Linked DNA regions of Homo sapiens: regions 1, 2 and 3 are each linked to region 4. Evidence: promoter capture Hi-C in 16 types of primary human blood cells and fetal thymus (Javierre and others, 2016). All regions are on one chromosome and are shown on one strand. The core of a region is centred on a gene start or on the middle of the fragment in contact, and the rest is flanking DNA. Distances in the headings are between cores, read along the strand shown. Region 1 has its middle 36 kb from the start of IL22. Region 2 overlaps FRS2 (fibroblast growth factor receptor substrate 2). Region 3 has its middle 13 kb from the start of LYZ. Region 4 holds the start of MDM2 (MDM2 proto-oncogene).

Region 1 (4,085 bases), core at 1,245-3,744, 520 kb before region 4:
GTGGTAAATGACACAATGGTAGTGTGTTGGTGTTGTCATTAACACACATGGGAACATGTACTCATGCGCACACACAAGCCACGCAACTCATATATTTTACTGTGGCTTAGATGGACTTTTTTTTTTTATTAGCAACTAGGAAATAGAGTTTGCCGAAGGGAACCTAGCATGGGAAAAAGTAAGACTCGCTGGCTCTGCTGTTGTTCAGAGAGAAGAGGAAATGGAAATTACTTGTCACAGTAAATCTAAAATTTCCTGAAGTATCAGTCGAAACTAATCCTTCTCCTTATATGGGATTAACAAATAATTTTTAAAAAGCTAGTTGTCTAGTAAATTATTTTGTAATTTGTGACTGTGACTTTTTAAGATTAAACAGATTTCTACTTATATACTAAGATTAATGTGTTGTACACAGCAGAAAATGTCTGGAATTGTTGCAGACAGTTTTAATTAGTGAATGAAAATAACCACTAAATCTGTATAATAAGGAGGGTCATCAGATATTTTTCTAGAAGCTTCTCTAATACAAAATATTCACTGTTTCTGAGTTTTATTTTTATTATTATTTAAGTAGTGACTGAAGAGCTGTATATGTTGATGTATGTCTCTACTATTCTGTATTTTTATATGTCTTCAAATTATTAAAATAAATCTGAATAAAATTTTTTGGGTCCCCACATTTTGATTCTGACTGATAAAAGAAACTGACATGTTGTTAGTGTATTGATCCATAATATTTTTAAAGTCTTGGCAGCAAAAGAACAAAGCTGGAGGCATCACACTACCTGACTTCAAACTATACTACAAGTCTACAGTAACCAAAACAGCATGTTACTGGTACCAAAACAGAGATATAGACCAATGGAACAGAACAGAGCCCTCAGAAATAATACCACACATCTACAACCATCTGATCTTTGACAAACATGACAAAAACAAGAAATAGGGAAAGGATTCCCTGTTTAATAAATGGTGCTGGGAAAACTGGCTAGCCATATGTAGAAAGCTGAAACGGGATCCCTTCTTTATACATTATATGAAAATTAATTCAAGATGGACTAAAGACTTAAATGTTGGACCCAAAACCATAAAAACCCTACAAGAAAACCTAGGCATTACCATTCAGGACATAGGCATAGGCAAGGACTTCATGTCTAAAACACCAAAAGCAATGGCAACAAAAGCCAGAATTGACAAATGGGATCTAATTAAACTAAAGAGCTTCTGCACAGCAAAAGAAACTACCATCAGAGTGAACAGGCAACCTACAGAATGGGAGAAAATTTTTGCAATCTACTCATCTGACAAAGGGCTAATATCCAGAATCTACAATGAACTCAAACAAATTTACAAGAAGAAAAAAACCCCAACAAAAAGTGGGCGAAGGATATGAACAGACACTTCTCAAAAGAAGACATTTATGCAGCCAACAGACACATGAAAAAATGCTCATCATCACTGGCCATCAAAGAAATGCAAATCAAAACCACAGTGAGATACCATCTCACACCAGTTAGAACGACAATCATTAAAAAGTCAGGAAATAACAGGTGCTGGAGAGGATGTGGAGAAATAGGAACACTTTTACACTGTTGGTGGGACTGTAAACTAGTTCAACCATTGTGGAAGACAGTGTGGTGATTCCTCAAGGATCTAGAACTAGAAATACCATTTGACCCAGCCATCCCATTACTGTGTATATACCCAAAGGATTATAAATCATGCTGCTATAAAGACACATGCACATGTATGTTTATAGCGGCACTATTCACAATAGCAAAGACTTGGAACCAACCCAACTGTCCAACAATGATAGACTGGATTAAGAAAATGTGGCACATATACACCATGGAATACTATGTAGCCATAAAAAAGGATGAGTTCATGTCCTTTGTAGGGACATGGATGAAGCTGGAAACCATCATTCTCAGCAAACTATCACAAGGACAAAAAACCAAACACCACACGTTCTTACTCATAGGTGGGAATTGAACAATGAGAACACTTGGACACAGGAAGGGGAACATCACACACCAGGGCCTGTTGTGGGGTGGGGGGAGCGGGGAGGGATAGCATTAGGAGATATACCTAATGTAAATGACGAGTTAATGGGTGCAGGACACCAACATGGCACAAATATACACATGTAACAAACCTGCACATTGTGCACATGTAGCCTAGAACTTAAAGTATAATAAAAAAATTAAAAATAAAAAATAAACAAAAAGTCTTGGCAGCAACGATTCATAGTAATTTATTTATTTATTTATTTACTTACTTATTTATTTTTGAGATGGAGTCTTGCCCTGTCGCCCAGGCTGGAGTGCAATGGTGCTATCTCAGCTCACTGCAACCTCTGCCTCCCGGGTTCAAACAACTTTCCTGTCTCAGCCTCCCGAGTAGCTGGGATTACAGGCACCCGCCACCACACCCAGCTAATTTTTGTATTTGTAGTAGAGATGGGGGTTTCACCATGTTGGCCAGGCTGGTCTCGAACTCCTGATCTCGTGATCCACCCACCTAGGCCTCCCAAAGTGCTGGGAATTACAGGCGTGAGCCACCGCACCTGGCCGGTAATTGATTTAAATGATCATGCTAGGGTATTTGTTAGTGCCAGGTATATGTTTTCAAATTAGTAAAGCACTTCGGATGTTTCATCTTTGCAAAATTACAAGTTAAACTTCATATTACTCGTTCCTTGTGGAACCAAAATTTAGTATTGCCATACAACCTATTTTCGATTTTCTTTTGGTTTCCCCAGAACCTTAACTGTTTTGACCTGAATAGTTTTTTGACAGGAACATTGAATGCTAAGGTACTCACTGTGGGCAAATTTTTCCTGAGATGCCCAAACTCTGACTATCATTGAAGTTATGAGTGTAAAGTGCCTGCATCTTCCCATAATGTGTGGCATTTGGGTTAGTTTATATTTTCTTCTTAAAATTACAAAACTGAGTTTAATTTAATTCACCTTATTCAAAAAAAACTTGCAGCAAACATAGGAAATCTTTGATATTGGGCACGCATTCATTCAGGGACCAACCTTGACTATCTTTCCTTTCATCAGTAATTATCGTGGGTACTTTATCTCTGCATTTCCTGACTCAAAGCTGATAACATCTCCAATTCATGGTTACGCTAATATAGTTTGCATTTATCAGGTAATTAGTTCCACCTTCTAGAGTAGCTGAGTCACAACACTGTAGTCAGTCTTTTTTCGCTTTACCACATAACGGAAATAGACAAATCATTTCAGCACCCCTACCTGAAACTGCCTCTGGGTAAGCTGAATGTAGGTCACAACTGATAGGTCTGTGATGAGAGGCCACGATTTCAGGGTACCCTGTCACCTGCTTATTAGATTTAACCTTAGCCTCTCTAAAACAAGGCTTTTTTTCTTGTTGTTTTAATGAAAATTTGCCGACATAATAAAACTAAACATTTTGAAGTGAATAACATTTAAATAGCATATATGAAAACTTCACAGACCTTATGCCATTTAATCTGAAAACTAAATTGGTGAGTGATCTTAATCTGCAAGATGAGGAATACAAGCTCAAAGTTCAATTGGCTTGCTCAAGGTGGAGTTAGGACTAGAACATAGGCTACTATAACCCCAAAGCCAGTTGTTCCCAAACTACCTATGAGAATCTGGAAGATTACACATATAGATTCCTAGGCCGTCTCTGCATAGTCTCCCTCTGTAAGTCTATTGTTATTTGTGGCTTGTTTTTATTTTCTAGGTGGACTTCAGCCAAGAAAATAAACTAAACCAAACCATTTGTATAAGCCAAGGAATATGTAAGTGGTATAATAAATATTAAAGCAGCTTATCTTGAGCTGGCTTTCTGAAGTAGATTGTTTTCTCTGTCAGGCAAGTGATATGGAAAGTTTAGGAGAGACTGAGGCAGTAGCTAGTGATGGGCTTGTAAACCGCCTCCCAGTAAATGGGAGAAGCCCTAATTTATGGCATCTGTTGATTTCAGTGGTGTAAATACTCCCACCATGGCCAATTTCTAACTACTGATAACTTTAACAACTTGCTCACAACATTCTTATTTAATGATTGGCCCATGAGTTAGCTC
Region 2 (4,410 bases), core at 882-3,381, 770 kb after region 4:
ATCATAACAGCATCTATCCCATGCTAGGGTTGGAAACTGATATTGGTATTACTTGTGTTTTTTCTTAGTGTGTTTTATTTCCCAGTTTCATCTTCTTCTAAAAATGAAAATATGGTGCCTTCCCTCCCTCCAGGAAGACTGGCAAATATTTCCTTTTATTTACTGCTGCTGTGGAGTGATGAGATATGCACTTTACTCTTTAAGATTCAGCAAAAAGCTTTTCACTTCTCAGTATATCCAGAATACATCATATCTGGGACTTAGGAAAATTTGCCAAGCAATCTTTGTTTTTATAGATACTAATGTTGACCCTCTCCAGCGTTCAATGTTATAAATAGAACAAGTCAAGCTAGTGTTTATCTCCTCCCCCTCCCCAAAACTGTGGCACAGCATATAAAAATGTACCTCAATAATGTTCTATTAAAAATGGGACAGGGGCCTTATGTTTTCATAATTTCCCAACAATGTGCCGCCATATTTTTGCCTCAAGGTAAAGGTTTTAACAGATGAAAAAGTACTTCCCAATTCCCCCGTGCTATTCCTAACCTATAATGCCCAAATGTTTTGTGCAATGTGTAGTGTGTGTGTATAAATACATATATTCTTGAAATAGACATACCATCAGAGACATCATTCACAAGTAACTGATGTATTGGCATCTCATTCATATTTCTGATGTGTGAGGTATATGGTACTAATTACCTTTTCCTTGATGTTTGCCAAATTTGAATAAAGGCATTGGTACGAAATTACAGAATGTAAAGAAAATGTTTTTGGCTTGAAAAATTAACATATTTTATGACGTACCACAGTATACTCTGCCCAAACCAGCACCCTATCTATCTTTCCTGTTCTTTACATCCCTGTTCCCCATCCCTACTTCCTCATTTTTGGTATAACACAGTTCTTTTGTAGCATCATTATAATTGCAGTTCTATGGCAATTGGACAGTTATAGCATGGAAACAGACTGGTATAAGTAGTACAGTAGTCACCAGTGTGCCACATTTGCATTAGTAATGCAAAATATACATTTTATAAAGGACAAACTTTGTGTTATGTTTTATTTTCATTACATTGTATAATATTGTAAGACTATTGTATGTCCTAATTTGCATTATAAATGTTTTTTTCCTACGTAAAGGCATAAATATAGCAACTTTGTATAAAGGTAGCTTATTAGATTTTTAATTTTTTCTTTTATAAAAAATTGTCCAACAGTGGGACTACCATTGCCAAATTGTATATGAAATATGAATTTTACCCCCATGGTTAATTTCTTTTATAAACATTCCATATTTCTCTAATAAAAAGACATAAGTGATACTGTACTATGCATACATTGTATCTTAATGCTGTTTCAGATCAGCATTTTAAATTTTGGTTTGCATTTTTAATATTGGCAAAACGTAACCACTGTTAATTAAAATAAAACCTTGTTGTATATGTAACAACATAATTTTCCCTCTATCCCTTCCCACCCTTTGTTCTCTATTTCTCCCTATCAGTGCCAACTTCATACATTTTGTAGCATGGCAATAAAATATAACTTTTACACTGAGGCCGAGTGTGGCTTTTTGGAGGAAGTGGGGATGGGACGATTGCCCTCTAGTTGTCCTTTGCATATGACTGTTTTTTGCCATATAAGCCATGTCATCAGGCATGAAAAGTTTTCTCATATATGATGTAAACTTGCTTTTAAGGACAAGTGTGAATGTGCTTTTTAAGCTTAATTTTTGTCATGACAACTAATTTTTTTTATCTTTGGAGAAGTCAGAGTTCTTTACAATCAAACGTTTATTAACTGGAGTACTTAGAATAAGCTAGTAATTGAATTTAGTTCAAGGGCTAAGCAACACATTTTTAAATCCTTATTTATTGTAGAGTATTAGTATACTGTCCTACAAATTATGTAAAATATGGTTTAATATTAGATGACTTTGGATTTTGCAATGCCTTACTGTTGTCATTCTAGCATAAATATCCATAATGAGGTACTCAAGTTGATACTGGAAGCTGAGCTGATCATACACTGACCTGAAGCATTCATGAAAAGCTGCTTTATTGAATAAAGTCTGATTGGAGTTCTTTTCATGCTCACTTTCCCCTTATTGCTGAAAGTAGATTGCAATAAAACCCCAATAAAACGTTTGGTCGGATATCTACTTAAAAGTTTTATTGTATTTATATTTCACATACTACTTGAAACTTTGTGACATTTTCTTTCCTAGTCTCATATCACTGCCTCCATTTTCAAAATGAAGATATCAAAATGAAATTGTAACTATATGACAGGCTTTCTCACAGTTTTAGCTGTGTGATCATTCCAAATAGTAGTTCTCAGCTCTGGGACTTCAAACCTGTTTTTAGCCACTGAGTGACATTGCAAAGCCTTAGTTGAGTACAGGTCAAGATGGAAATTATTTAAACAATGAAGGAGATGGACATGTCCACAAGTGATTGATGTAACTGGCATGATAAAGACACACACAAAGGAAGGGCATCCAACTCAGCCTAGGGGTGGAGGTTTTCAAGCAAAGCTTCTTAGAGGGGGTGATCCCTGAGGTGGTTTGTTGAAAGTCTTTGTAGCTTAGAGAGGATGTCTTAGGGAGAAGGGATAGCATGTGCAAAGGCACAGAGGTATAGAAAGATCATGACATTCAGTGGTTGCAAGAGGTTCCAAATGACTAAGCGCATGGAGAGCAAAGGCAGGGTTGGGGGATACAGAAGAAAGGAGAAATGAGAAACAGATCACAGAATCCTAAGGAGCTTTTGTTTAAATTAGGTGAGAGAACTTGAAGGATTTTAAACACCAGAAAAATAATAGTTTAGAAAGATTTCTCTGACAACATGGATACGTGAAGGGCGCAGTATTTTTTTTTTTTTTTTTTTTTTTTTTTTTGAGACGGAGTCTCTCCCTGTTGCCCAGGCTGGATGGAGTGCAGTGGCGCCATCTCGGCTCACTGCAAGCTCCCCCTCCCAGGTTCATGCCATTCTCCTGGCTCTGCCTCCCAAGTAGCTGGCCCTACGGTATTTTAATAAAGCAGGGAGACTGGTTGAGAGGCTTTTTCAGAAATGGAGCCAGATCTGATAAATCCGTATTCAAAGGCATTGTTAAAGGACTGTTTAGATTGTTTACTGCTGTGCAACAAACCACCCTAAAAGTTAGTGGCTTAAAGCAGCAATCATTTAATGTCTCAAGTTGCTATAGATCGAGATGGGCAGGGCACAGCAGAGATGGCTCATCTCACATGATGTCTGGAGGCCTGGCTTCCTCATATGCTTTGTGCCTATGCTAGTATGATTCAAGCAGCTGAGGGCTGGCTGGACCAGTTCCACTAGGTTATGTCTGGAACTTAAAGCTCTCAGCTGTGTTCCTTAGTTTTCTTCCATGAAGTCTTGGGTCTTTCTTCATGTGGTCTTCTTACATGGCAGCTTAGGGTTCCCAAGAGCACAAAAGTAGATGCTGCTAGGCTTTCTTGAGGCCTAAGCCCAGAACTGGCACAATGTCAATTCTGTTGTATTTTGTTGAATTACAGTGGCTCATATAAAAGCATGAACATCAAAAGTGTAGTTTATTCAGGGCCACCAATGTAATAGAGGGCCTAAAGGAGGAAGAATTAACACCTCTGATTGATAAGGGGAATGACAGAAATGGAGGGGTCAAGGATGACCCCCAGTTATCTGGTTTGGGTGACTGAGATGGTTGATGGTGTCAGTTCATTGAGATTTAAGATATATTTGGGGGCTGGGCATGGTGGCTCATGCCCGTAATCCCAGCACTTTGGGAGGCTGTGGAGGGTGGATCACTTCAGCCCAGAAGTTTGAGACCAGCCTGGGCAACATGGTGAAAACCTGTTTCTATGAAAAAATACAAAAATCAACTGGCGTGGTGGTGTGTGCTTGTAGTCCCAGCTACTCAAGAGACTGAGGCAGGAGGATAGATTAAGCCTGGGAGGTTGAGGCTGCAATGAACTGTGATCCTGCCACTGTGGTCCAGCCTGGGCAACATAATGAGACCCTGTTTTTTTTTTTTTTAAAGTGCTCCTCTAAGTGTGCTCCACAGACTGATTCCTGTGTACAAACTATCACGGTCTGCAACAGGAGAAATATCAAGTCTTCTAACCTTCTCCCTACTACCCAAACAGTAGGTGTCTGGGTGGACCCAACTTAATGTGACTGTGGACTCCTGGTCCTTTATTTGGTTTCCTTCCCCAGGTATTCTAACTGTTCCTGAGGAATGTTGACAAGTCCCATAACTCTGTTCTGGTGGTTGTTTGCCACTTCGCCAGTTATTTCACTCCAGTTAATGAATCTACCCTTGCTCCCAAATCACCTCTAGCCATCAAATAATGATATGCTACAGTGCTTTCCTACTTCCATAACATGCCAAGCATATCCAACCTCGGCT
Region 3 (4,774 bases), core at 2,087-4,586, 530 kb after region 4:
GTACTTTGTAATCTCACCAACCCTTAAGAAGGTTCTTTGTAATCTCCCCACCCTTAAGAAGGTTCTTTGTAGTTCTCCCCACCCTTGAGAATGTACTTTGTGAGATCCACCCCCTGCCCACAAAACATTGCTCCTAACTCCACCGCCTATCCCAAAACCTTTAAGAACTAATGATAATCCACCACCCTTTGCTGACTCTCTTCAGACTTAGCCCACCTGCACCCAGGTGAAATAAACAGCCTTGTTACTCACACAAAGCCTGTTTGGTGGTCTCTTCACAGGGACGCGTGTAACAAATACCATTAGGGGGCAATATCCTTGGTAGACCTCCCCAGAGAAGGCCATCTGGCTCAAAGGTTAGTTAATTGAAGTTGGGTAAACAGACTTAACTGGGGAAGCCTCTGTTGTCCCTTGTATTTACCCTATGACCTAATGCTCTAAGGTAAGAACTGGCCGCCTTGGCCTGTTCAATTATTACAAGCTATGTAAACTTTCGGCCTTCTAAAAGGTTTGTGACTATTTCCTATAACTTTCCCTAATATTTCCCTTTATTCTTTCTGCCACCATCCTGAGTGAATCCCAACAGTTTTCTCCCCTTGCAAAATGTACCACGTTCAAAAGTTTGAAGATCACTGTCTTTATTATCATCTTGCCTTTCATTTTGGCCTTCCTTCTCCAAACACGCACACACCCCCACACACACCAAATCACTTTAGTCTGTCCTAGCAAAAAGTGATCTATGGTCCTTTTTGGCACACAAAAAAATACAATTGTGTCATTCCTTTTACTCGGAAGACTTCAGTTTTTACATTGCCTTCAGCAGTGATTATTAACCTATTTTAGGTACTTATACTTTTGAGAATAAATAATAAAGCTTTTTACTTTCTTCTGAGAAAAATATGCAATATAATTTTATATAATTTTGGAGGTTTAGCAACACCTCTGAAGCCTATCCATAGATCTTCTAGGGATCCTTCACCTAACCTATACAATAAAAATGGAATTTCCTTTTAATAGCATAAAAGATTCTTCATTTACCCAGCCAAGCTCTTCACTTCCACTTTCTACTTTGAAAGGAACTTCCACAGCATACCATATTCTTTCTTATACCTTTTTTCCTTTCTTTTCTTTTTTTATTTTATTTTTTATTTTTATTTTTTTTTGAGACAGAGATTCCTTCTGCAACCCAGGCTGGAGTGAGTGCAGTGGCACAATGATGGCGCTACCTCGTGAGCTCAGGTGATCCTCCTACCTCAGCTTCCAGAGTAGCTAGGACTACAGGCATGTAACATCATGCCTGGCCAATTTTTTTTTTAAGAGACAGAATCTCACTATGTTGCCGAGGCAGTGTTTATTTTTAAATAAACTTTTAATTTCAGCATAGTTTGAGATTTACAAAAAAATCCTGAAGATAAGACAGTTCATTTCTGTATTCCCCACACCCACTTTCCCTTATTACTAACATCTTACATCAATAAGGTACCTTTGTTACAATTAATGAACCAATATTGATATGTTATTATTAGCTAAAGTTCATACTCTATTCAGATTTTTTAGTTTTTACCTAATGCCCCTTTTCTGTTACAGGATCCTATCCAGGGTGGCATATAACATTTTGTTGTTGTATCTCTTCTGGCTTCTCTTGGCTGTGACAGTTTCTCAGAATTTCCTTGTTTTGATGAGCTTGGCAGTTTTGAGTACTCATCAGGTATTTTGTAGAATAATCTTCATTTGAGGTTTGTCTGATGTTTTTCTTATGGTGAGACTGGGGTTATATGTTTTGGAGAGAAAGACCACAGAGGCAAATACCATTTTCATCACATCATATCAAGGATGCATACTTATCAATGTGGCTTATCACTGTTGATGTTAACATTGATCTACTGACTGAAGTAGAATTTGTCAGGTTTCTCTCCTGTGAAATTATTCTTTTCCCTCGTTTCCATACTGTATTCTTTGGAAGGAAGTCACTATGCACAGCCTCAATACTTCCTTGAGGGCAGAGTATCTACATAAAGTACTTGAAATTCTCCTGCATGGAAGATTTGTCTATTCTTCCTTTCTTTTATTTTTAAATATGTTTACCTCTACCTGGAATGCTGAAATAACACAATTTCAAAATGTCAGTGGCTTAACACGCATTTTATTCCTTATTCATTCCAAAATGCCTATCACAGTTTAGCAAGTGGCTCTGCTCCACATAGTCACTCAGACGCTCAGGCTGCCGGAGGTTCCACCATCAGGTAGCTAGCTACACTTTCTGAAACATACAACTTCATCAGTTGCCAAGGAAAAGTAAGAGCACTGGAGTGTTTTGCACCAGCAGTTAAATGTTTCAGCTTAGAAATGACATTTCTACCCATAGCTCATTGCCTAGACTTAGCTACATCACTCCGCCTAACTCTACAAGGGGACAGGGAAGTATAATCCTCCTCTGTGCCTGGAAGGAGAGGGAACTAGATATGGGTGAGTATTGGAAGTTTCTACCACAAGTCTTCTACCCCACTTGTCCACTAAACAAAATTCTATTCTTCCCCCAATTCTCATTCAGCTGAAATTCTATGAAGCGTTCACCATCTCTTCCAGACAGACTTCAGGTTCCCTCCATGCTCCATCATCACTTTGTAGCTATCACCATTAAAACTATTACATTGGATTATAATTGTTGGTTTGCATGTTCTGTAGAAGAAAACAACCATGTTTTTTCACCTTGGTATCCTCAGCATCAATACAGTGCCTCTTACATAGAAAAATATTCAGTCAATTTTTATTCTTGGCTGGGCGCAGTGGCTCACACCTGTAATCCCAGCACTTTGGGACACTGAGATGGGAGGATTGCTTGAGCCCAGGAGTTTGAGACCAGTCTGGGCAACGTAGTGAGACCCTATCTCTACAAAAAATGAGAAATCAGCTGGGTGTGCTGGTGGTGCACCTGTAGTCCCAGCTACTCAGGAGGTTGAGGCAGGAGGATCCCTTGAGCCCAGGAGGTTGAGACTGCAGTGAACTATGATCACGCCACTGTACTTCAGTCTGGGCAATAAGACCCTGTCTGTCTCGATTAAAAAAAAACTTTTATTATATTGAACTAATGAATAGATAAATTCTTAAACTTTGTAACCAAATGTTATACAGGACCTTATTCTATAATAAAATTATAGTGTTCTTAGCAATGAAAGTGGAATTTTTTTGTCCATATTAAATTTTTTTTTTTTTTTTTGAGACAGGGTCTCTCTGTGTCACCCTGGCTGGAGTGCAGTGGTACAATCTCAGCTCATTGCAACCTCTGTTCCTCCTGGGCTCAAGCAATCCTCTTGCCTCAGCCTCCCGAGTAGCTGGGACTAAGGCGCATGCTACCACGCCCGGCTAATTATTTGTATTTTTTGTAGAGATGGGGTTTTGCCATGTTGCCCAGGCTGGTCTCGAACTCCTGGGCTTACACGATTTGCCCACCTCGGCCTCCCAAAGAGCTGGGATTACAGGTGTGAGCCATGGCACCCAATCCCCTATTAACTTTAAATGAAGTATTGAATCATACCTTCAAATAGTTTCTACCCAGATTGGTATGAGAAATCCTGTGCCTCAAACATATGGTCTTATTTCTAATGTATTCCAGAGGGCTAAGTTAACTGTGTATTTTTAAAAATTATTCTCTCGGCCAGGCACAGTAGCTCACATGGTGGATCATACCTATAATCCCAGCACTTTGGGAGGCTGAGGTGGGCGGATCACTTGAGGTCAGGAGTTTGAGACCATCCTGGCCTGGTGAAACCTGTCCCTACTAAAAAATACAAAAATTAGCTGGGCATGGTGGTGGGCGCCTGTAATCCCAGCTACTCAGGGAAGTTGAGGCAGGAGAATTGCTTGAATCCAGGAGGCGGAAGTTGCAGTGAGCTGAGATTGTGCCACTGTATTCCAGCCTGGGTGACAGAGCGAGACTCCATCTCAAAAAAAAAAAAATTAAATAAATAAATAAAAACTATTCTCTCTCTTTTTTTAACTCTAAGCTATATTTTGTAATTATTTTCTAATAATTAAAAAAACACATTCCTCTGTAGTTTGTGGTTGGCTTTTATTTAGAACTTTGTGTTACTTCATTGCATCATATGTAACGTCAGAATCCTGTTTTAAAACACATGTTCAGAAGAGAAGAGCAACAATTTAATTGTAGGTGGGATGTATTTTTTATACAGTGACTTTACCAAATTTGTTGAGTGGTTACATTGTACAAGTGAAGGTTTCTTACTGGGAAGGCAGAAGCAAAGGTTTAAAGGAGCATAAGCCCTCGAAAAGCTCATGATAGCAGTTATAAAGACAATACAACAGCAAACAATAATAGAAAATGAAGTCATAGATGATATGTAATGACATATGTGTGTTTTTAACACTAAGTCCTCTGAGTTCAAGAATGGCACGTTCTGGGTGTGGAGTGGGTCAGAAGAGAGAAAACCTGGAGTTAAGGGGATTAGTAAGAAAGCCATGTACTAACATGAAGTTATCATGAAGTCCATACATGAAATTCAGGTCTAAAATAGATGCTACACTCCACAGAGGAGATTTAACTTGCAGTGTGATTGAATTCCTTACATAGATATGATAATTCTAAGTGTAGTTTTTATGTGTTTAGGTTTATTTTACTCCCTTTGTTTTCACAAAAATTAGTAGTCAAGTAGTAGCAGATTAGGGTTTAGCATCCTATTTTTAAAATAACATTTCTAATTTACTGTTAGTCTTCAATTACATGTCAGTTTGAAACAGCAGTCAAGGAAATTATTTT
Region 4 (4,629 bases), core at 1,391-3,890:
CAGTATTCAATATTATTACCTGATTCTGATTTTTCAGACATCACTATATGGTCCTTGGCTTTTTGGTCGTTCCTCTCATTCCTTTGCTGTTTCAAGCTCTGTTCCCAGCCTAAGCTTTTTACCACCGAATTCTGTTCTGTGACCCATAACTTAAAACTAACCCAACTTTTCATTCCCTCCAGACTTTTTTTGGTAAGCAGTATCATCATGCTTTAGGTGGACACTGAGTCATACTGCTGTGGTAGTGCTGGTACACGTAGTTTTGAATACCAGGTTCTTGAGTGAATCCTTTTTACTTCTCTCTCTCTCCCCCACCCCCGCTTCTCCCTTCTGCCTTCATTTCTGACCCTTCTTTTCTGGTTCCATTAGAAAAGGACTAATCTTATCAGTTCTGCCTTTTTTTTTCTGCTCTAATAATTTTGTCAAGATAATTTTTTCAAAGCACAAGGCCAATGAGAAGGGGGAAAGTCGGTCCAGAAGGCAGCCGGCCCGACTATTCTGAGTTTGAATCTACTCTTGGTGGTCCTGTTAAAATACAGTTTGAAGCAAATCACTTGTTTTTATGCTTCTAATGTCTACTCTGTCGAAAGCCCAAATTTCCTTGCTTGGCATTTAAGGAGACTCCAAGTTCTTAAAACTTCTTCTTGACTTTCATGCAAGTCAAACGGATTTATTTATTGTATCTCAAACAGTCCTCTTATATTTTCCTTTCTGTATTTTTTGATAATTTTCTTGTGCCTGGAATATTCTCTGCTTTTATTTAAGTCTCACCATCTTTCAAGACACAAAATATGTGTGATCTCTGAGGCCTTTGTGAACTGCCTCCAGCATTTACTAAGCAATTAATTCTGTCTCTGAACTTTTATAGCACAAACCCATTCGTTCACTTGATATTTAACAAATATCAACCTCTATCACTTATCTCTTTTTTTTTTTTTTTCTTCTGAGATGGAGTCTTGCTCTGTCACCCAGGCTGGACTGCAGTGGCGCGATCTCCGCTCACTGCAACCTCTGCCTCCCGAGATCAAGCGATTCTTCTGCCTCAGCCTCCCAAGTGGCTAGGATTACAGGCGCCCGCCACGGGGCCCGGCTAATTTTTGTATTTTTAGTAGAGACAAGGTTTCACCATCTTGGCCAGGCTGGTCTCGAACTCCTAACCTCGTGATCCACCCACCTCAGCCTCCCAAAGTGCTGGGATTACAAGCGTGAGCCACCGTGCGCAGCCTATCACTTATCTTTTCATGCTTACATTTTCTCACTGCTTGAGATTTTCTTTCATCCAGGGTCAAGCACTGAGTCTATTAGAAACCCCACTGTATATGATCTGATGAAGATGAGATTATCTTTTTAAAAGCCACATATTAAATCTCTTAAGTTAATAATATTGGCAATCAACTTAAATCAACTGAGTGACCACTATGTTTAAGGAAGTTTCCTTTCTGGTAGGCTGGGAAGCGGGAGAAGGGAAGGATATAACTTTATAAAAAAAAAAAAGCTGCAGAAGGGAAGGATATAACTTTATAAAAAAAGGTCCTTGTTCACAAGGAGCTAATCACTTACTGGCCAGAGAAGAAACGTGTTCCTTCTTTGCAATGGCTGTGTTTTTGGGTTTAGCTAACTCAATTCTTTATGTCCTCAATTTATGAGACCGCATCAAAAACGTTTTTGCCACATCTCTGTGGGAAAGTAGGTGAGTCAGAATGAGTGCATAATATATAAGTATATATTTTAATGATAATGAATGTGTAGATTAACAAACCCAAACTTTGTTTTTGTTTTTTTGAGAGTCTTGCCCTGTCGCCCAGGCTGGAGTGCAATGGCATGATCTTGGCTCACTGCAGCCTCTGCCTCCCGGGTTCACAGGATTGTCCTGCCTCAGCCTCCGGAGTAGAGTAGCTGGGATTACAGGTGACCGCCACCACGCCCGACTAATTTTTGTAGTTTTTAGTAGAGACGGCGTTTCCCATGTTGGCCAGGTTGGTCTTGAACTCCTGACCTCAAGTGATCCACCCGCCTCGGCCTACCCAAAGTGATGGGATTACAAGCGTGAGCCACCGCGCCCAGCCAAACCCAAACATTCTAAAAGCGCAGAGTAACCGCTCCCCTCCCCGCCAACGGTAACCAGCATCTTCGTTCTCCAACCAGAACAGCTGTATGCACCGGTGTATAAGCCTGCCTTAAGTGCTATTTTTAATCTTTTTTAAAAACAGGCCTTAAAATAACTCATTTGGGTACAACTCCAGCGGCTGGTGGAGTGGGCTTAATATATTAAACAGCTGTTAATTTTGGTTTCTTTTTGGTAACAGCGACACGGAGATCCGCATTTGTCGCAGTTTCCACCGCGGGCGGGAAGTGTAAACACAAGAAATACAAACATAGCGCAACGGCTAAAGGAGTGTCACAGCGCCAAACCTTGCTGGCTCCGCGCCAGGCCGAGCCCCACCCTCTCAGCTCGCGGCCAACACCCCCACCCCGCCTCACAGCCCGCCGCGCCCGCGGGGCGACACCCCCCACTCCATCATCCCGGAGGTGGTGCGGCCGAGCCCCGGACCCAATTGGCGGAAGCGGGGCCGGTTGTGTGCGCGCGCACAAATGCCCGGATGCGCCGCGACGACCCGCGCGCTCCCCTCGGGCGGTAGGGGGCGCGCACCGAGGCACCGCGGCGAGCTTGGCTGCTTCTGGGGCCTGTGTGGCCCTGTGTGTCGGAAAGATGGAGCAAGAAGCCGAGCCCGAGGGGCGGCCGCGACCCCTCTGACCGAGATCCTGCTGCTTTCGCAGCCAGGAGCACCGTCCCTCCCCGGATTAGTGCGTACGAGCGCCCAGTGCCCTGGCCCGGAGAGTGGAATGATCCCCGAGGCCCAGGGCGTCGTGCTTCCGCGCGCCCCGTGAAGGAAACTGGGGAGTCTTGAGGGACCCCCGACTCCAAGCGCGAAAACCCCGGATGGTGAGGAGCAGGTACTGGCCCGGCAGCGAGCGGTCACTTTTGGGTCTGGGCTCTGACGGTGTCCCCTCTATCGCTGGTTCCCAGCCTCTGCCCGTTCGCAGCCTTTGTGCGGTTCGTGGCTGGGGGCTCGGGGCGCGGGGCGCGGGGCATGGGGCACGTGGCTTTGCGGAGGTTTTGTTGGACTGGGGCTAGGCAGTCGCCGCCAGGGAGGAGGGCGGGATTTCGGACGGCTCTCGCGGCGGTGGGGGTGGGGGTGGTTCGGAGGTCTCCGCGGGAGTTCAGGGTAAAGGTCACGGGGGCCGGGGGCTGCGGGGCCGCTTCGGCGCGGGAGGTCCGGATGATCGCAGGTGCCTGTCGGGTCACTAGTGTGAACGCTGCGCGTAGTCTGGGCGGGATTGGGCCGGTTCAGTGGGCAGGTTGACTCAGCTTTTCCTCTTGAGCTGGTCAAGTTCAGACACGTTCCGAAACTGCAGTAAAAGGAGTTAAGTCCTGACTTGTCTCCAGCTGGGGCTATTTAAACCATGCATTTTCCCAGCTGTGTTCAGTGGCGATTGGAGGGTAGACCTGTGGGCACGGACGCACGCCACTTTTTCTCTGCTGATCCAGGTAAGCACCGACTTGCTTGTAGCTTTAGTTTTAACTGTTGTTTATGTTCTTTATATATGATGTATTTTCCACAGATGTTTCATGATTTCCAGTTTTCATCGTGTCTTTTTTTTCCTTGTAGGCAAATGTGCAATACCAACATGTCTGTACCTACTGATGGTGCTGTAACCACCTCACAGATTCCAGCTTCGGAACAAGAGACCCTGGTTAGTATTTTTGTCTCGTGTAACTTTTAAGAATAATTTATTTTATGAAGTGATAAACTAAATTTCGTATACCTCAATTGTAGCATGGCTCTGTAAATAAAATTGTATGTGCATAGCTTAAAGTGTGCTACCTCTGGCGTAACTGCGTGGAGTTAAAAACTGTTAAGAACTGGTCAGTATTTTTTTAGCCATTTGCCACATTTGCTTTAAAAATTAGTTCCATTACATTGTTAAGCGTGGTTGAAGTTACGTTTGTTACGTGACTGATTTTTTTTTCCTTTTTGACCTCCCAGTATTTAATTTTTAAAAATGGTTTCTAAAAGTCAAAAAAGTTATTCGTGCTTGTTTTAAAGATTTTTGTCATTAGAGAAATTTTAAAGTAAAACCTGAAAATTCCAGGCTTTTTGCTCCATGTTTCCTTTTAGATTTTTTGTGTGCGTACCCACATATATTTACATTTGAATTTAAATCTATGTTATTGTCCTGTTTGTTGTACTAACAAGATGAAACTGTAGTTGTTCTGTGACTTGCATCCTTGTCAATAAATAAAGTCTACAGAATTCTTTTTAATGGCTGCATAGTATTCCACAGCATGAGTATACCATTTTAAAAATTATTTATGCCTTTACTGATAGGTTTTTAAAAATTGCCTCCTGTTTTTGAGTATTACAGATAGTGCCGCTTTGTACATGCATCCCGTGTGACTATTTCTGTAAGAAAGATTTTATAGAATTATAGGCTGGCCTCGGTGGCTCACCCCTGTAATCCCATCACTTTGGGAGGCCAAGGCGGACCGATCACCTGAGATGAGGAGTTCAAGACTAGCCTGGCCAACATGGTGAAAACCTGTCTCTACTAAAAATACAAAAATTA

Evidence for each region. Contacts are between HindIII fragments. The CHiCAGO score rates a contact against its expected background, and 5 or more counts as called.
Region 1: a fragment that was not itself captured here is called in contact with the fragment with the promoter of MDM2 in region 4 in 1 of 17 cell types (megakaryocytes); the score reaches 5.9 in megakaryocytes.
Region 2: a fragment that was not itself captured here is called in contact with the fragment with the promoter of MDM2 in region 4 in 1 of 17 cell types (neutrophils); the score reaches 5.7 in neutrophils.
Region 3: a contact is called between a fragment that was not itself captured here and the fragment with the promoter of MDM2 in region 4, in 1 of 17 cell types (neutrophils). The highest score is 5.9, in neutrophils.

Annotation. Positions count from the first base shown.
Region 1 is chr12:68,287,133-68,291,217 of GRCh38, forward strand. No RefSeq gene overlaps it. Among named protein-coding and RNA genes, the nearest start is that of IL22, 36 kb to the left of the region's middle. RefSeq lists a silencer at 3,320-3,379. The HindIII fragment of the contact is 3,963 bases long and covers 514-4,085 here.
Region 2 is chr12:69,577,623-69,582,032 of GRCh38, forward strand. FRS2 (fibroblast growth factor receptor substrate 2) reads left to right here. Exons shown (of 9, transcript NM_001278356.2): 9 at 1-2,171. Among named protein-coding and RNA genes, the nearest start is that of MIR3913-2, 4.9 kb to the right of the region's middle. The HindIII fragment of the contact is 812 bases long and covers 1,726-2,537 here.
Region 3 is chr12:69,332,620-69,337,393 of GRCh38, forward strand. No RefSeq gene overlaps it. Among named protein-coding and RNA genes, the nearest start is that of LYZ, 13 kb to the right of the region's middle. RefSeq lists an enhancer at 1-265. The HindIII fragment of the contact is 4,929 bases long and covers 873-4,774 here.
Region 4 is chr12:68,805,537-68,810,165 of GRCh38, forward strand. It overlaps MDM2 (MDM2 proto-oncogene), which reads left to right and starts at 2,641. Exons shown (of 11, transcript NM_002392.6): 1 at 2,641-2,955; 2 at 3,672-3,756. The coding sequence starts at 2,942. RefSeq lists a silencer at 2,339-2,728 and enhancers at 2,930-4,129, 3,229-3,618. The HindIII fragment of the contact is 7,204 bases long and covers 113-4,629 here.